Linked DNA regions of Homo sapiens: regions 1, 2, 3, 5, 6 and 7 are each linked to region 4. Evidence: promoter capture Hi-C in 16 types of primary human blood cells and fetal thymus (Javierre and others, 2016). All regions are on one chromosome and are shown on one strand. Each heading gives the region's core, a stretch centred on a gene start or on the middle of the fragment in contact. The rest is flanking DNA. Distances are from core to core; before and after follow the strand shown.

Region 1 (3,875 bases), core at 445-2,944, 2.8 Mb before region 4:
TTGCATATAAGCACTCTTAGTCCAGATAGGGCGATGTCTCAAATCCCCCAAAGATTTTATTTATTGGCCAGGTGCCGTGGCTCACGCCTGTGATCCCAGCACTTTGGAAGGCTGAGGCGGGTGGATCACCTGAGGTTAGGAGTTTGAGACCAGCCTGGCCAACATGGCGAAATACCATCTCCACTAAAAATACAAAAAATTAGTCAGGCGTAGTGGCATGGACCGGTAATCCCAGCTACTCAGGAGGCTGAGACAGCAGAATCACCTGAACCCAGGAGGCAGAGGTTGCAGTGAGCCAAGATCGTACCACTGCACTCCAGCTTGGGTGACAGAGCAAGACTCCATCTCAAAAAAAAAAAATATATATATATATATATACACACACATATATTTAATAATTTTTTTTTGAGAGACAGGGTCTCTGTTAAAGATTTTAAACAAGAAGTTTAAAGTTGCAGAAAGAATTTTGTAGCATGCATTTCTAAATTTGCTCATATTTAACTGTTTTTTGTTTTATTTTCATTTTCTTGGTTAGAGTTGAAATGATAGGAGAAAGTTGTGCATTTCTATCCTTAAAGGTAATTCCTCAACTTGTGTCCTGGAGAAGAATCAGGTCATTTTTCCCAGTTAGATTTTGCTGCTCACATCTGTAGGCAGAACAGTCAGAAGTCTTCAGCCTATTCCCAAGTGATGATCAATGAACTGAAGTACTGGAAGACCTTTTTTGTCAGAGCCTTGGCTGCATATGACTCAGCTCCCAAAGGTGGCTCGTTTCTGTGTAGGCAGTCCTTTGATATTCTGTCATTTCATTTCAGTTTGGCATGGCCACTCCTCTTATCATTGTATAAAGTTGATTTTCTTAAGTTAGCCTCGCTAATGGTTTGTTTTATTTTTCTTCCGAAAGATAAAAAACACATAGTATATAACCATTCGCCAAAGATCTGTGGTGGTTGGTGGCATGGGTTAAAAAAAAGATACAGCAATAGATAGATGATAGTTTCCAGTCATGTGGGTTTAACTTCATTTTCTTTGGTTTGATGCCTCCTTGTAGCAAAGAAAGAAGTTGAAGGCTGGACTGTTTGTTTTAGGTACAGAGGAATCCGATTAGGGATCAGCTCTGTTCCCATAAACCACTGTGCTGAGACCTTTTTGAAGAATTTTAAAAAATGAAAGCATATTGCCTACTGCTATTAGGAAATCTATCAAATAAATAAATAAAAGGCCAGATAATTATTTTCTGATCTTCATAACAACATGGTATGGTTTGTGGCAGAGAGCTTAAAAATGTATTAGATTTGTCTTCAATTCTTGTGTTCTTGGTAATTTTCTGTTTTCCCAAACAGAGAGTAAGATTTTAGTCTCATGACTTTGGCTGATGTCAGTGGGGCTGAAGTTTCTAAATCACCCACGCACAGCTCTAAAACTGTCACTGTGAATTGAGTCCAGGACAACTTGGAAACAAGTTGAGTGTTTTTCAAGTAGGTACTTCAGCATGTTAAGGAGATGTCCATGCAAACTATCACTAAGAGAAAACTCATGACCATAATATAGAGCGTGTTAAACTTCCAGCTGGGTTGTGGGTTTGGGGACATGTTTCAATTAATTAAAAGTGAATTTATGTGAAAAGTTCTTTACTAGAAGCACATTTTAAATGATTTTTTTCTGCTTCTATGTTCATCTCAGACACTCAAACACTGGCCTGAGAGTTTGAATATTGCTGAAACCTTTTTACGTGATAGTGCCACTCCCTTAAAAATCATCATTGCTTAAATCTCTGTAGGGTGTTGGAACTGGTTGGGAAGAAAGGAACAGAAAGAACAGAACTTGGAAACAAATTCTGCCCATAGTGTTCTTGGTCACTTTTGCAGATCAGAATTAGTAGCTGGTTCTCCAGCAAATCTGCCACCTCCTGTGTTGCCCTTAGGTGCCTAAAATATTATAGATTTTCAATAAAACAAAAGAAAAAAAATATACTTTTTTAACTGGATTATAAGACAATAAAATCTTATCTTTAAGTTATCACAAGATGCGATAAATGGATTATGCAAAAGGATATGGAAATGTTTATAAGCAAATCCAAGGAACTTTGAACGACATTAGAGTGTGATGATTTTTTAAAAATTAAAAATTTTTTTTAATTTTGAAAAATGTTAATACAAAGTATTATACATAGGTAATTTATCACATATGTGTCCATGATTCAGAATGAACACATAGTAACATTCTGTCAGACGGCTTCAGATTGTTTCACTTTTTAAGAAACCATTATGGTTAAGTTCAGATTCCCCTTTGTTTCCCTGCCCCATGCATCTTCCTTCCTCCCCAAGGACAAGGACTGTCATGAATTCAGTGCATTCGTAGTCTGTGTTTTATAATTTATTTTCATACATAAACAACATATAATTTGTTTTTGTTTTTAACCTACATAAATACTACCATACAGTACCTCTTTTTGTAATTTGCTTTATTCTCTTCAGCATTATATATTGAGGATTCAGCACGCTGAAAAACATAGATCTACTAATCATTGACTTTGCCTTTTCATAGTCTTTTTATACTTTTTCTGTAGAAGGGAAAGAGAAATGGACTTAAAGATGATGTATTTGAAAGACTTTAGCTGAGTGGGGATTTGTGAAGAGAAAGGGTTTGAGTGGGGTGGGCTTTCAAGTCTGTGCATGGGAAGGATATGATGGATCAACTAATGGGAGAGGAAGAAACCAGAAAGGAGCATGCCAGCTGCAAGTCCTGGGCATCTCTGTGGCAGAGGAGGGGAGGTGCACCATACACCCTGAGTAAGAATAGTGCTCGTGAGGATGGGCAGAAACATGTTTTGGCTTACTAGAAAATAAATAAAGCCGTTTGCCTCGACCACTTTGTTATGCTTCTTGCTGTGGGTCCAGCAGCCTGAAACTCACTTACCCATCTGATAGAATCACAGCAGAGGGAACCTGGGGGAAAATGTGATTCCTCCTTTTTAATTTTATAGATGAGGAAACGGAGGCCTGTCAAGAAGGGACTAGGGTCATACTAGTACATACATACATGCAGAGCCAGGACCTACGTCAAATTTAGTTTGACAGCTGTTTGTCCTTTTGTGTTACTAAATTGATGTTTGACATACTGTAATCAAGGCTGTGTCAGCGCATTCATCTAATTTTAGTTTAAATAGGCATAGTAGGGCCGAGAGAGGAGCATTTGAATAGGATGCATGAGCTAGGCACTATGCTGGAGAGTCTTAATTTGAAGATTCAGCAGTGGGTGAATGGTCCCTGCCCCAGAGAGGGGATAGAGAAAAACCTAAGAGAGTCTCAATACACTGTGCCAGTGGTATTAAGGAGGAGACCTGTGAACCAAGTGGGTGTTAAAGGAAGTGTTACAAAAGGCATGGAATAGGCCTTTGAGGTCTGGGATTCTAGCAGTCTCCTTTCTGGTTTCCTTCCCTCCCCATCATCACTCCAGTCCCCCACAAATCCATGTGTCTGGGCTAAAAGAGATGTTGGCCCAAAAGAGATGTTGGCCCTTAACTGGTGAGTTGATGTAGACAGGACCTGTGATGCTTCCTGAATCAGTCTGTGAGGCATTGCCTAGTGAATGGTATCTGTGGTTGATTTCCTGAGTGAGCCCTTCCCATGAGAGTGTCTCCTCGAGTGTCCCCACAGGCCGATCTTTCATTTGTTTCTGCTTTACCTCTGGCTTCCTGGAACAGTTCTGTTATGTGACTTTATAGCAGCGCTGAGAGCTGATGGTAAGCCTTCTGAGACACAGAGGCTTGGGTTTTTACGTCAGTGGCCCTTGTAGGCCAAGGGAGTGAAAAGTAAAGGAATTGAGATAAAATGCTGTCCTTGCCAAATTGTGGTTTCTGCTTTATCTTTCAA
Region 2 (3,471 bases), core at 286-2,785, 2.6 Mb before region 4:
CTTTTTCATAAATTATAAACATTAATGTATTATGCTCATTAAAGCCATATATAAAAAGAGAAATGTAAAATGGGGACATAAGAATAACTATAAAAATAAATTTAAGAAATAACTATATTGCACTGGATGCAGTGGCTCACATCTGTAATCCCAGCACTTTGGGAGGCAGAGGTGGGCTGATCACTAGGTCAGGAGTTCGAGACCAGCCTGGCCAATATGGTGACACTCTGTCTTTACTGAAATTACAAAAATTAGCCGGGCGTGGTGGTGCACACCTGTAGTCCCAGCTACTCGGGAGGCTGAGGCAGAGGCACAAGAACTGCTTGAACCCGGGAGGCAGAGGTTGCAGTCAGCTGAGATCACGCCACTGCACTCCAGCCTGGGCAGCAGAGTGAGACTCTGTCTCAAAAAAAAAAAAGAAAGAAAAGAAATAACTAATAACTATATTGGCTGGGCACGGTGGCTCACGCCTGTGATCCCAGCACTTTGGGAGGCCAAGGCGGGCAGATTACCTGAGGTCAGGAGTTCAAGACCAGCCTGGCTAACATGGTGAAACCGTGTTTCTACAAAAAAACTAAAAAACTTAGCCAGGCGTGGTGGCACGTGTCTGTAATCCCAGCTACTCAGGAGGCTGAGGCAGGAGAATTGCTTGAACCTGGAGGCGGAGGTTGCTGTGAGCCGAGATCACAACAATGCACTCCAGCTTGGGCAACGAGAGTGAAACTCCGTCTCAAGAAAAAAAGAACTAACTATAAAAAATAAGTTATTGGCCAGGTGCGGTGGCTCACGCCTGTAATCCTAGCACTTTGGGAGGCCGAGGAAGGTGGATTACAAGGTAAGGAGTTTGGGACCAGCGTGGCCAATATGGTGAAACCCCGTCTGTTCTGGAAATACAAAAATTAGCTGGGCGTGATGGCAGGTGCCTGTTGTCCCAGCTACTTGGGAGGCTGAGGCAGGAGAATTGCTTGAACCTGGGAGGCAGGGGTTGCAGTGAGCAGAGACCGCGCCACTGCACTCCAGCCTGGGTAACAGAGTGAGGCTCTGTTTCAAAAAAAAAAAAGAAAAAGAAAAAGAAATAAGTTCTTATCTTTTCTTCCTCCACTCCAGTGAATTTTCTCCCCTCCTCACCCCCACAGGGTGCCTGTATCTCATTTTATTTATTTTTTATTATTACTATTATTTTTGAGAGTAGCTGGGATTACAGGCAGGCACCACCACACCCAGCTAATTTTTTTTGTATTTTTAGTAGAGATGGGGTTTCACCATGTTGGCCTGGCTGGCCTTGAACTCCTGACCTCAGGTGATCTGCCCACCTTGGCCTCCCAAAGTGCTAGGATTCCAGGCATGAGCCACCGTGCCCGGCCTGCATCTCATTTTAGAAACCAGACTATTCTGTCAACATCTGCGTACTTGCCAGCTGCCTATTTTACAAGTGCAATTTCACTTAAGCTTCATTGCCACCCTGGGCGTTTCTACCTTTGCTTTCCATATCAGATCAGAAAACAAACTGAGCTAGGCTACATGACTCATTCAGGACACACAGTGAGGAAGTTAGGAGCCTGATGTTGACTCCTGTGTTCGTTTGCTCAGGCTGCCAACACCGACTGGGGGCTTCAATAATGGAAGCTTATTTTCACACAGTTCTGGAGGCTGGAGTTCCAAGATCAAGGTTTTGGCAGGTCTGGCTTCTTCTGGGGCCTCTCTCCTTGGCTTGCAGATGGCTGCCTACTCATGGGGTCCTTACACGGTCTTTTCTCTGTGCTGACACATCCTGGTGTGCCTTCCTTTTCTTAGGAACAGCAGTTCTGTTGGATTAGGGCCCTGCTCTGTGACCTCATTCGAACTTATTACCTCCTTAAAGACCCTAACTCCAAGTACAGTCATATTCAGAGACACTGGGGGTTAGGGTTCCAACGTATAAATTTTGGGGGGACAAAATTCAACTCATAAGAGTTCCCAGGCCTATGCTCTCTAGTCACTGGGCTGCCCTGCTTGGCTGGCCTGAGCATGTGACCTGAGGACACCCACTACAAAGATAAGTGCCCCTATGGCCTTCCAGGGGACAGCCCCAGCAGAATCTTAACACTCCTGTAAGATCTCTTTATCCCCTGCTTCCAGGATCCTGGTGCACCCATCCTTCTGCCTGGAATATCCTCTTCTCTCCTCTAATCTGCTCCCTTGCCACCTTCCCCACCTCCCCACTGGTCTAAGTCCTCTCTGTCTTCTCTGTTCTTCCAGCAAACTCCAATGTCATCTCCTCCATGAAGCCCTGGCTGCCACTCACAGAGAAGCAGGCTGAGTCCTGCACCAGGATGCCTGGCTGAGGAGCAGAGTGGCATAAAAGCATTTGCTCTTTGTTTGCAGGCCGCTGGGCCCAGGAGGCTGGGTCTGTTCAGGTAAGCTCCTTCTAATTTGCATCAACACTCATAAGGGGTAGGATGGCCCTGCAGTGTTGCTAGAAGTGATTTTTCTCTTCTGTTCGTTTCCATAAAATTTTATGGTACCTCTCATATACCATTCTGTGTTACTGGTATTTTTGTATTTGAATTGTCTTCTTATCTAGAAGGTGAGTTCTGAGAGTGCAGGGATCTTATCTTATCTTCATTCATTCATTCATTCATTCTTTCTTTCCTGCACTCACTCCATAAAGACCATTGAGATTCCACTGTGTTTGTTCAATTAAAGCTTGCTGAAAGAATACCTCAGTGAAATGCCCCCTGCCCAGGTAGCCTGTGCTCCTCCTGTATCTTCTTCATTCAATCCTCCCTGCTCTTTCATCCAGTTTACAGAATCAGACCCTCCACACACTGGCTTTTAGAGCTAGGGTCAGGTGTGGGTGGCCAAGCAGCATCTGATATGAGCAAAGGTGGCCCTGCTCTTCTCTGACCTCTTTACAGACCCCAAGTGCATTCTTTGCCAAAGCCACCCCAACCCCATTCTCTGCGAGCATTCCCTCCCCAGCTGCACCCTGCCCTCCCAACTCCTAGGATAGTCCACGTGGCCCTAGTAGTGTAGATGGAGCACATTCCAGGGCTCCCTCAGAGGGAGGACAGAAACTTGTGGAGCAGGAGGCGTCCCTTAAAGGAGGCAGGCAGAGAGGTGGGCCCTCGTCCCGGGTCAGGATCCTAGCAGGAAGCAGATACACCTTAGCTTCTACTGGGGAGTTGCCAGGAAACGATTGTGCGTCAGTCTGCACACTCCCAGTTGGTAGCTTCTGGAACATGGAGTAGAGAAACCTGGAAAAACTGAACAAGTAGAGCAATTGATTTTGTTCACACAATCGCAATAGGAAGAACACCCCAGATATGAAGATTAGAGTAATGGAAGGCAGGTTTTTTTTTTTTCAAGCAAACTTTTCATTGAATGTTAACAAGTTTTTACATACATGTGACCGCTACCACAATGAAAATACAGAACAAACATTTCCATTGCCCCCCAGAGTTCTCTTGTGCCCCATTCCATTTGACACCC
Region 3 (3,819 bases), core at 1,229-3,728, 2.8 Mb before region 4:
TCAGCATGGCAAATAAACCAAGGTCCCAGTCAGGCACAGTGGCTCATGCCTGTAATCCCAGCACTTTTGGGAGACTGAGGTGGGCGGATCACGAGGTCGGGAGTTCAAGACCAGTCTGGCCAACATAGTGAAACCCCATCTCTACCAAAAATACAAAAAAATTAGCCGGGTGTGGTTGCGGGCTCCTGTAATCCCAGCTATTCAGGAGGCTGAGGTAGGAGAATTGCTTGAACCCAGGAGGCGGAGGTTGCAGTGGCCAAGATCATGCCATTGCACTCCAGCCCAGGCGACAGTGTGAGACTCCATCTCAAAAAAAAAACAACAACAAAAAACCAAGGTCCTGCTAATACAGAATTATGATCCTATAACAGCACTGGTCATTCAGTTAATCCGACACAATGGAACCCTAAAAATACGGAAGCTTGCAGAAACTTTTTGAATCAAGTATCTTCTCAAAATGTGTTCCTTAAATTCAAAACTACTAGTAAGAATTATGTGTGGGCAGGGAGAACCAAAAGAAGGGAGGGGTTGGTTCATGGCCAAATATTAGTAAATTTAGGAAACTCTGGGTTAAGCAGGTTTAAAATGCTAACGTTGTGTTACGTTGTGGATTTTCAAGGCAGTGTTCAATATACTGTTTCTCCCAAATGTATTAACTAGAAAACCACAATATGTGCAGCACTGTATACAACATTTCATGAAACTGGTGTTCCACGGAACACACTCTGAAAAATATCAACTGTGTCCATCCAGTAGTTCCACCCTGAAGTTCCTGGCTGTAGTATAAATCTGCAGGTTATTTCATGCCTTGAAAGATAATCTAGTTGAAATATATTATTTACCCACAATAATACTTTGCAGGCTAACTTTAATGACAAGTTTCGTTTCGTTTCATTTATTTTGTCCATAATTTTGTCATGGAAGTAGCATTGGTTGTTTTCTACCCTTAGGTGCTCTGAAAACTTGATGATACTTTAGGAATTTCAGAGGCATTGGTGGATTAATTACTGTGTTCAGAACCACATCTAAAAGGTCATCATAACTTAACTAAAATTTTTAGCAGTGGAAAAGTTGAAAATATTATAGGAGTCATAGATTCTCCTAGTACTCAATCACATATGTGTTCAGTCTTTAATTTATTCCACACATATCTGCTGGAAGCTTATGATTGGCCCTGCTTTGTGTTGGTTGGTATTTTTCTGCATTATGAATTTTATTTTTATTTAGTTCATATTACTAGGGTGGTAACTTACTAGGTAATTGCTTAAATGTATAGTAGAATCCAGGCAAGCTTAGAAAATTTAATGCTGCTCCTATCACTGAAGTTTCCTTGGGCAGAAAAGGTTTTAAAACCACTGATTTAAACTATCCTCTTGATTTTTTTTTTAAGTACACTAATGCATCATAAGATTAAAATGCTGATATTTTACACCTAGATTATGCAGAACCTGGGGATGGATCCCAGATATTCTTATGCTGCTAATCTTTCCCTCTTACCTGGCTGTTGTTACCATGTGTTGTAAGTGAAATGAACAGAAGAAGAACCCTAAACTGGGAAAAAGGAAAAAAATACGGAAGGCAATCTTTTGAAGACTTAGAATTTGTTTTAAGGTTTCTTATGTATTATTCCTACCTGTTGGCAATTTAAATTTAGCCAGGTGCAATGGCTCACCCCTGTAATCCCAGCACTTTGGGAAGCGGAGACAGGAGGATTGCCTGAGCCCAGGGGTTCAAGACCAGCCTGGGCAACATGGCGAGTCCCTGTTTCTAAAAAAAATTTGTAACAATAATAGATAAAAATAATAACTACAGTTTTGGATTTCTGTTCAGAATCTGGAACAGTTTGAGAGTTGAAGAGTTTCAAATGCGGGTAATCTGGGAGTTTTTTTGTTTGTTTTTGTTTTTGAGATGGAATCTCGCTCTGTTACCCAGGCTGGAGTGCAGTGGCGCAATCTCGGCTCACTGCAACCTCGACCTCCTGGGTTCAAGCAATTCTCCTGCCTCAGCCTCCCGAGTAGCTGGGACTACAGGCATGCGCCACCACGCCTGGCCAATTTGTGTATTTTTAGTAGAGAAGGGGTTTCACCATGTTGGTCAGCCTGGTCTTAAACTCCTGACCTCAAGTGATCTGCCTGCCTCTGCCTCCCAAAGTGTTGGGATTACAGGCATGAGCCACCGCGCCTGGCCCAAATGCTGGTAGTCTGGTAGTAGAACATCTTCAAATCTCTATCAGATTAAAGTTTTGCTTACAGTAATCTCAGAGATCCTTGAAACCAACCTCAAGGAAAAAGGAAGGTGTTTTGTCTAAATCGTTAAAATAGTGTTACAGAGTAACCTTTGTTTCCCTGGAATATACATGGAAATAGTTCTATAACTGATGTCCTGAAAATTGAAAATCATTTATCACTGTGACTGAGGTCTTGCTCTCATCTAAGTCTTCAGTAACTCAATCTTTATTAACATGTGGTAGATAAAAATAATAATATTCCTTCTATTTTTTCTTCATATTGCCCTATCTGACATAGTCTTAGAATTTTAATGACCTGCGGCAGTTTATGGTCCAGTGGTTGTGGAAGGAAGAAGTACGCATCTGCCTCATTCATTTTTATCTCTATTAGCCTGGAAAGGACTTTGCCATCTGTTTTATCTCCCTCATTTCACAGATGAGGAAATGAAATCCAAAGGTCTCATCCCAAATTAGTGACAGGGCGAAGACTTGATAAGCCAGCTCTGATGCTCTTTCCTGTTTGCTAATCTATTTCTAGCAATTCTCATGAAAATATTAGAGATGAGCTAGATCTTATAGAAACATATAAAAGCAGTATTAACGGATAAAATATGACATTTAATTTCCTATTCTATATTCTTCCTATGATGTCATCTCAGAAGGATGGTTTGTGCAAACTGAAGATTGATAAGAACTGGAATTAAACATGCTTCATATGTGTTTAAGCATTAGAAAAAGTTATTTGGAGTCTTTTTAGTTACTTGAATCCTGGATTAAACTTATTTTCTTCATGAGAAATTCACTACCTACTTCTGGTTCTAATTTGAGGGTTTCAAGTTTAATTTTTCCTTCTTTCAAACCTTTAGAAGGAGGAGGTACCATGTGCTGACTTTCACACGCTGTTTTTGCTTTAGCTGTGTCATTGTGAATTTATAAATATTCTACCCGGCATCAGTGTTAAATTTTTTGGTTCTAACTTTTTTTCTGCCTTGTTTTCTAGATTCACGGCCCTTCCACAGTACCTTCCACAATACCAGTGCTAATCTGACTGAGAGGTACTATAAATTTGTTACTCCTTTTTCCAGAAATAAAATGAAGAAAATTTAAAATCTCTTAGGCCATTTAATTACGTAAACTAAGTTAATTGAGCTTATTGGGTTCTTCTTTGAGTGATAAACTTGGAATAATGATTAAAAGTGGTTTTGTCATGAAGGCTATACCTTAAAGTTAATGTCTTCAGTAGTTTTATTAATTATACTGTCCTCATGATAAAAATTGGTTGTATTTATTGATGTGAGGGTACACTATTATTTGACTTTATGAACTTGTGCACCCTTTGCTTATGGGATTTTTAATTCCTAAATCTAACAGTCTAAACAACATTTTGTTTCATATTAGTGTCTGTGTGTGTGTGCAATTTATAATAGTCTTAGCTATTTTAAGCTTTAAAGCTGTTTTCTTCTGTATACATGTAAATGATACATAGCTCTGTCGAAGTAAACGAATTGATTCTTTTTTTTTTCTTTTGAGACAGAGTTTCGCTCTTGTTGCCCAGGCTGGAGTGCAATGGCGCGATCTTGGCTCACTGCAAC
Region 4 (3,536 bases), core at 122-2,621:
GCTACAAAAACAGAGAGCTGGGTTGGGCAATGCCTGCTGACTCACCACAATCCAGTCATGTCAGTCTTTGATCAGAATCTCACTCACCAAGGACTTTCCTGTTCAGGGACTTTCAAGAGGTTGTTCCTTCTTCCTAGAATGTTTTTCCTCACATTCTTTCTTCTGGGAGAGTCCTACTCATCTTTCTGATTTCAATTTAAATATGACTGTCTCAGAGAGACATTTCTCATAAAGAGAAAAACCTGTATTCAGAAAGTCTGAGGCATTCCTTGACACTCACCATAAAATCAAAATGTGATGTATTTGTTAAACACTCTTATAGTGCCTTGTGTTTTCCTTAACAACACTTATCAGGGTCTGCATTTAGTTGTATGATTATTTGGTTACTGACTGATCCCCTCACTCAACTAGACTGAAGTACTCTGAGAACCAGAGCTACTTCTGCCTTATTCATTACAGCATCTCTATCACTTAACATACTCTCTGATGCATAGTATGGGCACAATGAACATCTGTAGGTTGAGTAACAAATATTTGTCAAGCGAGCGAGTAAATGAATAAATCAAGCAAAAAGCACAGAAGAGAAGTTTATAGTTCTCAACAGACCAAGACAAAAACATCTCGGATTCTGAGGAAACATATCACCCTTCAAACACTTTCTGTAGCGACCTCACACCTTCACAGCCACTACACTGTTTTTGCCCATGCTTCCTCACTTGCCCCTCACACAGATAGCCCCATGAGATAAAACAGAGTAGGCTTATCATAGGCATCTGACAGATGTGCCCACCGCCTCTTGTATTTCCTTCTTAACATTCATCACATCACAAAGACTTTCTCCCTCCAGACTTGTAAGCTCCTAGTGACACGGACCGATTCTTGTTCACCACAGGATCCCTATTGTGTTGCATGAACAAGAAGTAGAGTATCTCCAAAGAGTTGTCTAAGGTGACAATAAACACGGCCAATGAAAAGAAACCACTTTTTGTTGAACATCTATGTACCAAACCAAGTCAGTAAGGTAGGTACCATTCTGCGGATAAGTACCGTATACTTAAGTTCAGAGAGGTGAAATTACTCGCTCAAAGTCACGCAGAATAAACGTCACTCTGAACCCTGCATCTCAGTCCCACCTGCTGCAGTAGAGACGCCATCTCTTCCTGCAATGGGGTCAACGGCTTGGAGACTACAGGTGGCCGCTGCAGGCACAACGCGCCCAACAAGCGCCATGGGGATCCGTTGCTTGAGGGTGCGGCTGCAAGAGCCAGGCTGCGAGAGCTTAGACTGCCGGCCCAGAGCCTCTCGAACCGCCGCCAACCCCCCGCCACCCCTAACAGCGTCCGCCTTACGGGCGCCGCCATCTTTCGTTCTCCCACAATGCACCGCGGCTCCCAGGGATCCCTCAGCCGCGGGAGCGGCAAACTAGGGGAAAGCTCAGTCCCGGAACTGCTAGAACGAACCATTCGCATATGGAGGGGGTGACCCACCATCTCAGAACATTAAAAAAGGGAAAGAATCCCCTGGTGAACTACAGTGAAAGTCTTATTGAGCATTTAAATGGAAATAAAAATATTCAGTGGACCTAATGAAGAGTAGATGACTTTCCCTTCTGTCCCCTCCCCGACAGGCACTCATGGTACCGGCGCCGGCGCAGCTGTGACTGTCGCTGCAGACGGAAACTGACTGGGGTCAATTCAAGTCATGCAGGCTGTGAGAAACGCGGGGTCGCGGTTCCTGCGGTCCTGGACTTGGCCCCAGACAGCCGGGTAACAAATGACTGCCCCCTCGAGCCCACCGCCACCTCCAGGACTATGCTCCTACTCGTGTCCCTTGAGCCACCCGGGCCCCAGTGACCGTTAGGCCGTGGCCCTCACCGAGCTTTTCTTCCCAGCAGGGTCGTGGCCAGAACGCCGGCCGGGACCATCTGCACAGGCGCTCGACAGCTCCAAGACGCTGCGGCCAAGCAGAAAGTTGAACAGAACGCGGCTCCCAGCCACACCAAGTTCAGGTGAGCCCCACTTGGACCAGCCCTCTGGAGACCCGCAACCCCTGACTCTTGCCCGACACCCTCCAGAGTCAGAACCAGTGAATTTTCAGCTATGTCACTTGCTATCCGTGGGACCTTATGCAAATAAATCTGAGCCTCAGCCTTCTCATCTAAAAATGCGGATAATGCTGAGAGAGGTTGTGAGAATCAGATGAGCCGTGGTACAGAGTAAATGTTCAGTGAACATTCGTTAAATCAATGAGTGAATGTGAGATATCCATAACATGTATCAGCGTTCTTTTCTTCTGAGATGGAGATCTTTTCAGACCAATAACCTTCCCTGCCTCCAAAACAAAATGGGGAGGTAGAGGGCGCTAGCGATGGAACAGATGTTCCTGCACGTCTTACGGATGGTCCAGGGTGGGTTTTGTGCTCAGCCCTAGGAACTGGCATCTTGCTTCCCACCAGTGCCACCACCTCTGTATGCTGTATACACATCCACTTAACTTCACATCCATTTAACAAACATTTACCAAGAATCTACTATGAGTGAGACACCATGCTAGGTGCCGTGAATACAGATACAAAAGATCATTCCTCCCCACAAGTAGTTCACAGTCTTTGAGGGAAGACAAACATGCAAACATTTTAACCATAATCTGCTCAATAATATAATGGAGGTAAGCATTGGTTGGAAGTATGAAATCATAAGTGTCTAACTCCTGGCCGGGTGCAGTAGCTCATGCCTTTAATCCCAGCACTTTAGGCGGCCAAGGTGGGCGAATTACTTGAGGTCAGGAGATCGAGACCAGCCTGGCCAACATGGCGAAACCCCGTCTCCACTAAAAGCACAAAAACTAGCCAGGCGTGATGTCTGGCACCTGTAATCCCAGCCACTCAGGAGGCTGAAGTAGAAGAATCGCATGAACCCAGGGAGCGGAGGTTGCAGTGAGCCAAGATCACGCCACTGTACTCCAGCCTGGGTGACAGATTGAGACTCTGTCTCAAAGAAAAAAAAAAAAAAAAAGAATAAGTGTCTCATTCCTGAGGAAATCAGGCAAGACCATGGAGAAAAGAACATGGAGCTCAGAAGTGAATGGGAGTTCATCTGGACAAGTTGAAGTGGGTCATTGGAGACAAAGGTAACCATCTGTGTAAAGGCATGTGGTATGAAAAAACATGGTGTGTTCAGGTGTGTATGTGATGGCAGATGAGGCCAACAAGACAAGAAGGCATCAGAATGCCAGGGGTCTTGTCTGTCACACTGGAGCTTTTACGCTGTCCCCACTGAAGGCAGTGAGGAGCTGCTGAAAGCATCTAAACCAAGATTCTGTTGTAGTCATTTCTTCAACAATGCCAGGCACTGTTCAGAGTGTTGGGGATATATCCCTGACCAAACAGACAAAAAGCCCTGCCCTCATAGAACTTAAATTCCAGTGGGTAGAAGACAGTAAATAGAAAACAAGTAAAATGTAGGAGTATAACGGTTGGAAAGGGGAAGTGGGGGTCAAGCAGGCCTGCATAGCCACATTCTGTAGGACTTTGTAGG
Region 5 (3,674 bases), core at 40-2,539, 2.7 Mb before region 4:
CAAAGGGGCCGGGCGCAGTGGCTCATGCTTGTAATCCTAGTACTACTTTGGGAGGCCAAGGTAGGTGGATCACCTGAGGTCAGGAGTTCCAGACCAGCCTGGCCAACATGGTGGTGGCGGGCACCTGTAATCCCAGCTACTCAGGAGCCCGTATCCCAGCCCGTATCAATGAACTTTTGTACTCAGTGGCATTCCCATCTGACAGCCTGTCCTGCACTTTGAATGGATTGTTTACCCATGTGTGATTCTGTAACATCAGGCATCGGCCATTTGGAAAACATCGGTTCACTGAGTTATGCACTCTGGAGAGAATGAGTGAAAAGGGCAAATAATGTTTTAGTATTACCACAAAAATAGTTTTGACCTTGTGGACTCTCCACCAAGAGAATCTCAGGGACACCCAGACCACACTTTGAGAACATTGCGGTAGCGGATTTTTCTTTTTTTGTTTTTTGAGACAAAGTTTCGTTCTTTTTGCCCAGGCTGGAGTGCAGCAATGGTGTGATGTCGGCTCACTGCAACCTCCACCTCCTGGGTTCAAGCAATTCTCCTGCCTCAGCCTCCCAAGTAGCTGGGATTATAGGTACATGCCACCATGCCGGCTAATTTTTTCTATTTTTAGTAGAGACGGGGTTTCACCATGTTGGCCAGGCTGGTCCTGAACTCCTAATCTCCAGTAATCCACCTGCCTCGGCCTCCCAAAGTGTTGGGATTACAGATGTGAGCCACCGCGCCTGGCCAGAAGATTTTTCTTATCTTCCACACTAACCACTGTTTTTTTTAAGAACTAAGAAAAAGAAAATTCTGTAGGAAGCATGGGGGCCTATGCAGGGGGTCTCCATCCCGTTTGTACTGTGATGCACTAGAGCCTGCTGTCACCGGAGGCAGCTGGACCCAGTACCCTCTCACCCACTGCTGGCTGCCTCCCTCTAATGACCTGGCCCTGCCTGCTCCTCCCTTCATTATCAAAAGCCTTCTCTCACCCACAGGACCACCTCATCCTTCTCCAAAAAAAAAAAGACCTTGGGTTTGCAGAGGACAGGCCCTCCAGTAGCAAAGTACAGGGGCCGTGAGTAGACTGCTACACTTGGGCTTTGCAGTTGATAATTCTCGGTCTCTTGAAATTACATATGTACGTTTATTTATAGCAAAAACATGGGTGCCCATAAATAGCCAGTCATTCATATACACATTTTTAGCATATGGTTTAGCCACCAAGTTCCACTGCATCATCCTTCCTGGGACCTTGCATTGGGGTTTTCCTTCCCAGTCTTGCGTCACCACTGCAGGCCAGGTTATGGTCAGGCCCCTGAACCCTTTCTTCCCACACCTACCAACCCAGTGCCAAATTGTGAGCGCTCCTGCTCAAAAGCCTTCAAGGAGGCTTTCACATCCAAGCTGTGTTCAATCGGTTCCCTTTCCAGCTTTGTCCCACCCCCAGCCCCTCTTCCTCCCTCTCTCGGCTTTAGCTCTCCCCCTCCCTTCCTCTCATTCTCCCTGCTCAGCCCCACACCCTCACCTCCCCAATCTCTCCTTTCATAGCTACACCCCACTCTGGATTTTACATTTGTCGGGTATGTGGATGGCCTTGTCCACAGTACATGCTCAGAAAATGAATGCAGTAAGTACACTGAAATCTGAGCACCTACAATGTGGTGCCCCATGCGACACACAGGGCATATGGCATGCAGTAAATAACATAATTTTGTCTTGTCTCCTAGAATGAACGTTCTTCTGCCCTCTGTGCCTTTGCTGCAGCACGGTAGCCTTTCTTCTACTGCTGGACAGCACTGTTCACTCCTCAGGTCACTGCGTATTGTGCCCTTCTCTGTACTGGCAGCTCAAGGACATTGTTCTGTGTCATCTTTGCTACCTAGAATCGATTAGATGCTTAATAAATACTGCTGAATGAAATGGGGATTAGCCACAATACCCACGGGAGAAAGAATCAAAATGATCCAGAGATCTGTTAGACCCACCTGAGAGTTCCCTGGTGCCTGCCTGGTACCTGCCGTATTATATGCAATATAATCAACATATACCATATTTAAACATTTTATTTATTATTTATTTTGAGACATAGTCTCACTCTATCGCCCAAGCTGGAGTGCAGCAATGCGACCTCGGCTCACTGCAATCCTCCAGCTCCTGGGTTCAAGCTATTCTCCTGCTTCAGCCTCCCAAGTAGCTGGGATTACCACGGCTGGCTAATTTTTGTATTTTTTTTTTTGGTAGAGATGAGGTTTTGCCATGTTGGCCAGGCTGGTCTCGAACTCCTGACCTCAGGTGATCCACCTGCCTTGGCCTCCCAAAGTGCTGGGATTACAGGCATGAGCCACTGTGCCCAGCCATATTTAAACATCTTAGGCCAGGAGTGATGGTTCATGCCTATAATCACAGCACTTTGGGAGGCTGAGGTGGGCGGATCACCTGAGGTCAGGAATTCAAGACTAGCCTGGTCAACATGGTGAAACCCCCTCTCTACTAAAAATAGAAAAATTAGACAGGCTTGGTGGCAGGCATCTGTAATCCCAGCTACTCAGGAGGCTGAGACAGGACTATCGCTTGAACCCAGGAGGTGCAGCTTGCAGTGAGCTGAGATCGCACCACTGCACTCCAGCCTGGGTGACAGAGCAAGACTCCACCTCAATAAAAAAAAAAAAAAAAAAGAATTTTAAATGCTAGATGGGAAAAAGCAAACCTTAACTCTTTTCTGGATGGTGTTCCATAAATCATACAAAGCGAATTGCAGATACCGACCTTGGGCAGCCTACCAGGAAGGTTAGATGCTAAGAGTCCCTGGTTTCAAATCCCAGCACTGCCATTGCTACCTGTAAAACTGGTCCAAGATACTGAAATTCTCTGAGACTCAGTTTTCTCATCTGAAAAACAGGGGTGACAATAACTGTCCTGACCTCGAGGTACCATCCTCAGAATTAAGAGAGAATACACGTAAAGAGTGTAGCATGGTGGGACACAAATTTTGCTTGATTCATGACAGCTGCTGTTATTAATCATATTGTTATTGATGCAGGTCCATGGATGTCGACCTGATTCCTGTGATCATGACAGAGATTTTCAAATCTAATTAATGTGTGCTACATAGGTAATTAATGGTGTTACTGATCAATTGGTTGACCTTAAAGAAGGGAGATTATCTGGGTGAGCCTGATCTAGTCAATAAGCCCCTTAAAAGCAGAGTTGGCTGGGCACGGTGGCTCATGCCTGTAATCCCTGCACTTTGGGAGGCCAAGGCAGGCGGATCACCGGAGGTCAGGAGTTCGAGACCAGCCTGGCCAACATGATGAAACCCCGGTATCTACTAAAAATATAAAAAATTAGCCAGGCTTGGTGGCACACACCTGTAATCCCAGCTACTCAGGAGGCTGAGGCAGAAGAATTGCTTGAACCTGGGAGGCAGAGGTTGCAGTGAGCTGACGTTGCTCTACTGCACTCAGCCCAGGCAACAACAGCGAAACTCCATCTCAAAAAAAATAAAAAAATAAAAAAAAAAGCAGAGTTTTCTCCAGCTGGTCCCAAAAGTAAAAGAGTCGGAGATTCAAAGCAAGAAAGGATGTGACACATCACTGCAGGTTTGAAGATGGAGGGCATTGAGACTAGAACCCGGCTGCAGCCAGCAAGGAAATGGGGACTGACCTCAGTCCTACGACCAT
Region 6 (3,732 bases), core at 528-3,027, 2.9 Mb before region 4:
ATAGTATTTTCCCCCTTCCCTCTTGTGCTGTTATATAAATGTGTTTATGTTGCTGCAGCTAAGCTTTCATAAATGGTATATACCATACAGCAAAGTTTTGGAATGGGCTGTTACATGTTTTCTTATAGATTATGCTGAAAAACATTTTCCCCTTGAGCACAAGGCTTTAAGATTTGTCAGTAAGCTTAAATTGTCACAAAATCTGAGCTATCACAAAAGGGGATCTATAGACCTTTTCTTTCTTTTTTTCTTTCCTTCTTTTTCTTTTTCTTTTTTTTTTTTGAGATGGAGTTTTGCTCTTGTCACCCAGGCTGGAGTGCAGTGGTGTGATTTCAGCTCACTGCAACCTCTGCTTCCTGGGTGAAAGCGATTCTCCTGCCTTCGCCTCCTGCCTAATTTCAGCTGTGAGTAGCTGAAATTACAGGCATGCGCCACCATGACTGACTAATTTTTGTACTTTTTGTGGAGATGGGGTTTTGCCATGTTGGCCAGGCTGTTTTCGAACTGGCCTCAAGTGATCCACCTGCCTCAGCCTCCCAAAGTGCTGGGATTACAGATGTGAGTCATGGCACTCGGCCTATAAACCCTTCTTAAACCTGACTCTTCTTTCTTTATATAAAAACTGATAGCCAAAATGAGATTTTTACTTTATAGCTCAATAGTAACTGTCTAAATTATGAAGTATATCGTTTTCAGCAATGAAAAAACAGGTTCAATAGGCCAGACGCGGTGGCTCACACATGTAATCCCAGCACTTTGGGAGGCTGAGGTGGGTGGATTACCTGAGGTCGGAAGTTCAAGATCAGCCCGACCAACATGGTGAAACCCTGTTTTTACTAAAAATACAAAAAAATTAGCCGGGCGTGGTGGCAGGTGCCTGTAATCCCAGCTACTTGGAAGGCTGAGGCATGAGAATCATTTGAACCTGGGAGGCGGAGGATGCAGTGAGCCAAGATTGTGCCATAGCACTGTAGCCTGGGCGACAGAGCACGACACCTTCTCAAAAAAAAAAAAATAAGAGAATAAAAGGTTCAATCAACATTTTTTTTTTGTTTTAAGAATAGTTTGTTTTGGGATATGATTCACATACCATAAAATCCACCCAATCAAATAAAGTGCATAGGTCATTGGTTTTAAATAGATTTACAGAGTTCTGCAACCATCGCCACTAAGGCTCTAATTTCAGAACATTATCACTCTAAGAAGAAACCCCAGACCCATTAGCAGTGTGCCTTTCCTTCACTCTTCCCTCCCCCAGCTCATTAATCTACTTTTGCTTTCTGTAAATCCATAGAGAGATTTGCTGTGAGAGTGTGAAAGTGGCTGTAGATAGTACGTAAACTGCCCATTCCAGAACTTCATGTAAATGGTATAACACAATATGTGATCTTTTGTCTCTGGCTTCTTTCACTTAGCGTAATATTTTCAAGTTTCATCCATGTTGTGGCATTGATCAGTATTTTATTTCTTTTTATTGTCAAATACTGTTCCGTTGTATAGATATACCACATTTTTTTGTGGATTTGGATTGTTTCCACTTTTTGGCTACTGTGAATAATGCTGTTATGTACATTTGTGTACAAAATTATGTGGACATGTTTTTATATACCTAGTGGAGTTGCTGGGTCATATGGTAATTTCCATTTATTTGGCTTCAAAAATATTTTTCTTCAAGGTCTTGAGATTATTTTTCTTTGTTTAAAGCTATTAACTTTTATTTTATTTTATTTTTTATTTTTTTGAGATGAAGTCTTACTGTCACCCAGGCTGGAGTACAATGGCAGGATCTTGGCTCATTGCAACCTCCACCTCCTGGGTTGAAGCGATTCTCTTGTCTCAGCCTCCCGAGTAGCTGGGATTACAGGGACTCGTCACCACGCCCGGCTACTTTTTTGTGTTTTTAGTAGAGATGGGGTTTTGCCATATTGGCCAGGCTGGTCTCAAACTTCTTATTTCAAGTGATCCACCCGCCTTGGCCTCCCAAAGTGCTGGAAGTACAGGCGTGAGCCTGTGCACCCAGCCAGCTATTAACTTTTAAAACAAACTTGTTGAGAGAAACAGTGCCCTATGCTTTAGATTCCATGGTGGTCAAAAAAAAAAAATTAGAAAGCTGAAAATCAAGTTAGTGAACTTACTCATGCTGCCCCTTTGAAAGTCCATGTTCCTTGGGCTACACTTGACATTGCACTGTTTTTACTCTTCAGAGGACTAAGTGGTATGTTTTTTTGAAATTTCACGGTAGGTAAATGGAACAGACTATCCCAGATTGTTTCAAGAGTATGAACAGTGATGAACAAACCTTGTTGTATTGGAGTACTGTGGTATGAAGGTGCTGACTGTTCTAACCCGCCCTTATTACACATAATATTCATGACTAATGCCTGGGTGGCTACTTGTAAAGCAGGCATTATTCAGACAAATGTTGCTTTTACCCCTGTGAGAAGAAAAGAGAACACACCCTGCATGGGTACGTGTGTCTTTGTTTCCAGAAGCCCCTTAGAAAGGGAAGGAAAAAACTCACATCCTTGAATTCAAATACCTCTGTTTCTTAGTACTCCATTTTAATATTGTAGTGATTAGAGTCATTGAATCCAGGCTGGTACTTGGCTCTAGACCCTTTGCTTTCTGATGAGGGATATCTCTATTCTAATGGTATCTTGTCTACTATAAAGAAGAAAACAAAACATGACTTAAAGAAAAGAAAAGGTCTCCTCTCTCAGTCCCTTTCCTCTTCTCCTTTTTTCTCTAGTTTTAAGAGTTGAGAGAGTGAATATTCCTCTGGTTGGTCAGCATACCTCAATTTACAGATAAAAGAATAGACCCTTGGAGAGTCACATGACTAGCTTGAGGCCAAAGGCAGCTGGAAGAGTTTGAGGTTTGATTTCTAATCTGGGACTTACACAACAGGGCGATTCCTCCTTGACTCAAGAAACCTGGGCTCTGATTGGTAAAGTTGCTATAAGAAGCCTGAGAACCATGTAATTTATCTCTAGCTGCGAGATATCAATGCCTTATGCTTTGTGTTTGCTTCCACCGTGTAGAGTTGGGGAAAGCATATGTCAGTGGGATTTTCAGTTCTTGAGGATTTGCAGGCCTAAATTCAGGAAGTTTTTGTGTTCACAGCATTCTTATAATGATGTGAAATCTGACTACTTAACTCTTCTCCGTGGTGCTCTGACAAACTTGCCTTATTTGCTGTGAGTTGAAAGGATAAAACAGACACACACTTTAATTTTTCCCATTTAACTCTTCACATACTATATTCATATAGGTTTTCACTGGATGGGGAAAGAGAGCAGAGGTCGGCAAACATTTTGTAAAGGACAGATTTTGTAAATGCTTTGTGGGACATATGGTCTCTTAAAACTAGTAAGCTTTGCTGTGAGTATGAAAGTGTCTGTAGCTAGTATGTAAACAAAGGAGTGTCACTGTGCTTCAATACAACTTTATTATGGACACTGAAATTTGAATTTCATGTGATGGTCATGTGTCGTGAAATATTATTGTTTTGAATTATGTTTCCAGCCATTAAAAAAATGTAAAATCTCAGCCGGGCACAGCGGCTCATGCCTGTAATTCTGCCACTTTGGGAGGCTGAGGCAGGCGGATCACTTGAGGTCAGGAGTTCGTGACCAGCCTGGCTAACATGGGGAAACCTTGTCTCCACTAAAAAAAAAAAAAAAAATACAAGAGTTAGCCAGAAATTGCTTGACCCGGGAGGTTGCAGTGAGC
Region 7 (3,524 bases), core at 381-2,880, 2.7 Mb before region 4:
GCTGGCTTGACTGCAGTGTGGCCCCTCACGCTGCACAGCACAAACTGAGGACCCACGTCCTGAGGCTCAGCTGAGGGAGCCAAGCACATGGGCTGCAAAGATCTGGCCTTGATCCCGGAGCAGAGCTCACACTACTGCTGGGAGGAGGAGACAGGCATGGCAGGGACCTCGCAGGCCTACAGGAAAGGCAGCCACAGCTGGCAACACCAGCTTGGAGGGCAGACTGGGAGCTGAAACCCCGCCCCCCCACACCCCGGCCACCTCTCTCAGGCAAATGTCACAGCTGCATTTAACAGTGCTGGCTTTTCGGTATGGCCTCAACTCCCATTTTAAAAATCTCACTATTTTCCATGGGAAGTGGGGAGATGGAGAGAGGGAGAGACAGGACCTGCTCCTCGACAGTCTTGGATGAAGCCCTAGTTAGGGTTGTACAGATGAGAGACACAGAGTACCTCAACGTTCACTCTGCAGAGTGGACAGAAGCGGGGCCAGCTTCGAAAGCGTTGAGGAAGCTCACAGGAGCCAATGTGAAGAAAGTGCGGCCATGGAGGAGTCATCCGTGGCACTCGCTCTCAGAGCCTGCATTTATCCTGCATGCACGTGTCAGGATGAGACTGTGCCATCCTGTTCCCTCTGCGGTCCCGACGCTGGTAGAGCCACCACAGGGTGGGCTTGGCAGGATGTGTCTCTTGCTCCCATCCTCCCTGGTTCCCCACCATCCCTGCAAGCTGAGTGGAGAAGCTGTGATGAGTCTACCTGGAAATGGCTTTGGAGCCCTGGGTCCTGGCATGGAGCTGGTGCCCATCAGTAGAATTACTTAATCTATCGTGCAACCCAGGAGTGTCTGGAAGCTTCTCTGCGTACCAGAGCAACGCTGCTCATCTCCTTTACCTGCAGAAAGGACAGGAAAGGAGTCCAGCCCTACTAAATTCAACTCAAAAAAGCCACTGCTCCCCTACTGCAAGCCCTCAGGGGCCCGAGCGCCAGGTGCCAAACCCAGGCCAACCCCAGGGCCAGAGCAAGGCCCCTCAGGTTCAGGGGGCCTGGGCAGCTGGGGCCAGACACACAGAAACTGCCAGAGCTTCTGCTGCCATGCTGAGCATGTTTCCTCAGCTTTAAAATGGTGACCTCAACAGTGACTGGGGCTAGGCAAGGTGGCTCTCACCTGTAATCCCAGCACTTTGGGAGGCCGAGGTGGGCGGATCACTTGATCACTAACCTCAGTCAGAGGTTAGTGAAAACAAAGGTGTCATTCTTCTCCCACCCAAGTGCATGGACCCCCTGAATTTGATCCCAAATCCCAAGTTAAGAAGCCTCCGGCCTATTCTAGGCTTTTCCTTGACCTTTAATGAGGCAGAGCCACATCCCAAAGCCCAACAAGGCAAGGGAAGATGCAGGACAATACTGTGCCCGTTCTGGGAAATTCACCCAAATCACCCTGGCTCCCTGGGCAGGGCCTGAACCTCTGCAGGTGCCATGGGCGGGCCAAGCTGCAGGTCAGGTAGGGTTGGGCCTGAGGGAAGAAGAGCAGCTGGGGGGCCGATCACCTTCATGGCCTCTTCAAGTTGGAAGAGACCATTCCCACCTCCTGAAGGAGAGAGGCCGGGCAGATCCATCGGGGCTGGGCCTGGGGCCGGGGCTGGGACATGATGGACGGGGCATGCAAGTTTCTTGCTCTGCGAAATATCCCCCCAGTGATGATCCAGAAGAACCAAGGCTCTTTCCAAGCTGTGCTCATTAGACAACTGCTTCTGAAGAAGTTGCTTCTTTCCCCACTATGATTCTACAGCCTTCGGTGTTGAGCAAGGGATGGTTGCCACACACCCTTGGGGTGGATGACTCTGGGCTCATTCTTGTCAATTCCTGACCAAAGAAATGTCCTTTGAAGGCAGGGAGACCTGGCTGAGCAGCCAGGTGGAGGAGGCAGTTGGCTACCCTCTCCTTGCCCTTGGCAACTTGACAGTCCCCCCAGGCAGGCTCTCAGGATGCCAAAGCCTCCAAGATGGCCCGTTTTCTTTCCTGCATCAGGCACAACCCAGGAAAGCTCCACTGGCCATCTTGGGACCGAGGTTTCCAGGGAGACCTTGCCCCATCACTGATGGGGAAGGCGCCTTCTCCCTTCCCCAAGCCCCATCCCAGACTCAGTCTGACCCCTGGGAGGCCAAGGAACATGGAGCTAGGCCTGCTGGGCAATGACTGGAAGCAACACTGCTCCCAGCCCCCAGCCCCCACAATGTAGCATATGGCTTGGTTTCAAATCCCAGTTCCACTGCTGTAATGTGGCGGCCATTCTCCCCCTGTAAAGGGCTATCTGGGCATTGGTCCTGGTGTTTAGTGCTTTATAGAATTTGACCTCAACTTTTAACCCTACTATCATTAAGTCTGTATCAGAGAATCAAGTGGTTTAACCAAGCTTGCACATACATGAGAGCCACACGTGAGAGCTTGAACCCAAACTCAGGTGGGCCTAGCTCCAAATCCACATTCTGTCAGTTGCAACCGTGTTTTTTCCTCCTCCTCCTCCTCCTCTTTCCAGCATGAGACATTGGGCAAGTTACTGTGACCTGTGGACCCATTTCTTCATCAGCAAGAAGAGGACAAGAATGTCTACCTCCGGGGGTCACTGTGAGGGTTAAAGGAGGTAGTTATGCAAAGCACTGGCCAGTGGGCTTGACAACTGCTTGACAAGAAGGGTTTGACAAGAGCCAGGATCTTGGCAGATGACGGCTCTGCATGCTCCCAGAGAAGCGGGAGGCAGGGCGGTGTGCCCAGGTTCCTTCCAACCCCTGACCCAGCATGTAGAGGAAGAGGCTGCTACCTGTCTAATATCTACGCTCCCTTTACTTGGCGTTGGAGTCCTGGAGTTTCCTCGGGGCACTTTCCAGTCCCGCTCGCAGTCAGGCGTGGATGTGACTGAGTTCTAGCTGTTGGGAAAATGGAGAAGTTATGGTGCAACTTCTGGGACATGCCCTTAAAACAGGCTTGCCCATCACTTTCTCTCCTCCCCTTTCCACTGGCTGGAATGCAGATGGGATGGCCGGGGCTGCGAAGGCCAGGGTGGACCAGGAAACCGCTGCCTTGCATGGAAGACGGCAGGGCAGGGAGAGAGGGGGTGGGAGTTGGAGAGAGAGGGAGAGAGGGGGAGAGAGTTGGAGCCCTGTGGGCCACAGCTGGCTCACACTCACCCTGTGACTGTGTGACAGGGAACTTCACCTCTGCTGCTGTCTGGACTCTAGCTGGAGCCAACTCCTGGCTTTGGATGCCCAGAGTGAAGCGCTCAGGCCTGTGTGGAAGTGGTAGCGTTCACCTGTGGTCCCCACCACTGCTACAGGAGCAGACAGTGCGAGGCAGAGTCCCAGGATGCCCCTCCCAGGGCTGCACCTCTGGGCAGGGGGAGGGACGAGGCCCTCTGTGCTCTTGGCTCTTCTACACGCACCATACTCACCTCTGAGACACACCCGCTCAAGATCATTCCATTTTCTAAGGAATCTGGCGTCATGCCCCTACGCCAGCATCAGAAGCAC

The links. The method cuts DNA at HindIII sites, captures the fragments that hold promoters and counts their contacts. A CHiCAGO score of 5 or more calls a contact.
Region 1: a contact is called between a fragment that was not itself captured here and the fragment with the promoter of MRPL46 in region 4, in 4 of 17 cell types (M1 macrophages, M2 macrophages, erythroblasts and 1 more). The highest score is 7.3, in M1 macrophages.
Region 2: a contact is called between a fragment that was not itself captured here and the fragment with the promoter of MRPL46 in region 4, in 16 of 17 cell types (M0 macrophages, M1 macrophages, endothelial precursors and 13 more). The highest score is 22.8, in M0 macrophages.
Region 3: a contact is called between a fragment that was not itself captured here and the fragment with the promoter of MRPL46 in region 4, in 1 of 17 cell types (M1 macrophages). The highest score is 6.3, in M1 macrophages.
Region 5: a fragment that was not itself captured here is called in contact with the fragment with the promoter of MRPL46 in region 4 in 1 of 17 cell types (endothelial precursors); the score reaches 6.0 in endothelial precursors.
Region 6: a contact is called between a fragment that was not itself captured here and the fragment with the promoter of MRPL46 in region 4, in 1 of 17 cell types (erythroblasts). The highest score is 5.5, in erythroblasts.
Region 7: a contact is called between a fragment that was not itself captured here and the fragment with the promoter of MRPL46 in region 4, in 6 of 17 cell types (M2 macrophages, M1 macrophages, M0 macrophages and 3 more). The highest score is 18.2, in M2 macrophages.

Annotation. Positions count from the first base shown.
Region 1 is chr15:85,703,495-85,707,369 of GRCh38, forward strand. The region is part of intron 17 of AKAP13 (A-kinase anchoring protein 13); the gene reads left to right. Among named protein-coding and RNA genes, the nearest start is that of LINC02883, 53 kb to the right of the region's middle. RefSeq lists a silencer at 1,358-1,487 and an enhancer at 3,854-3,875. The HindIII fragment of the contact is 4,594 bases long and covers 1-3,875 here.
Region 2 is chr15:85,835,735-85,839,205 of GRCh38, forward strand. It overlaps LOC105370952 (a long non-coding RNA gene), which reads left to right and starts at 1,557. Exons shown (of 3, transcript XR_932580.2): 1 at 1,557-1,679; 2 at 2,239-2,396. The HindIII fragment of the contact is 177 bases long and covers 1,448-1,624 here.
Region 3 is chr15:85,678,931-85,682,749 of GRCh38, forward strand. It overlaps AKAP13 (A-kinase anchoring protein 13), which reads left to right. Exons shown (of 37, transcript NM_007200.5): 15 at 3,228-3,282. Among named protein-coding and RNA genes, the nearest start is that of LINC02883, 78 kb to the right of the region's middle. The HindIII fragment of the contact is 2,379 bases long and covers 1,290-3,668 here.
Region 4 is chr15:88,466,017-88,469,552 of GRCh38, forward strand. MRPL46 (mitochondrial ribosomal protein L46) reads right to left here and starts at 1,372. Exons shown (of 4, transcript NM_022163.4): 1 at 1,134-1,372. The coding sequence starts at 1,361. MRPS11 (mitochondrial ribosomal protein S11) reads left to right here and starts at 1,692. Exons shown (of 6, transcript NM_022839.5): 1 at 1,692-1,766; 2 at 1,892-2,008. The coding sequence starts at 1,702. RefSeq lists enhancers at 1-906, 1,373-1,542. The HindIII fragment of the contact is 6,788 bases long and covers 1-3,536 here.
Region 5 is chr15:85,781,044-85,784,717 of GRCh38, forward strand. The region is part of intron 1 of KLHL25 (kelch like family member 25); the gene reads right to left. Among named protein-coding and RNA genes, the nearest start is that of KLHL25, 12 kb to the right of the region's middle. The HindIII fragment of the contact is 7,893 bases long and covers 1-3,674 here.
Region 6 is chr15:85,585,926-85,589,657 of GRCh38, forward strand. The region is part of intron 8 of AKAP13 (A-kinase anchoring protein 13); the gene reads left to right. Among named protein-coding and RNA genes, the nearest start is that of LINC02883, 170 kb to the right of the region's middle. The HindIII fragment of the contact is 3,190 bases long and covers 183-3,372 here.
Region 7 is chr15:85,755,066-85,758,589 of GRCh38, forward strand. LINC02883 (long intergenic non-protein coding RNA 2883) reads right to left here. Exons shown (of 6, transcript NR_120366.1): 1 at 3,446-3,524; 2 at 3,186-3,283; 3 at 2,819-2,924; 4 at 757-891; 5 at 453-590; 6 at 1-176. Among named protein-coding and RNA genes, the nearest start is that of LINC02883, 1.9 kb to the right of the region's middle. The HindIII fragment of the contact is 1,562 bases long and covers 850-2,411 here.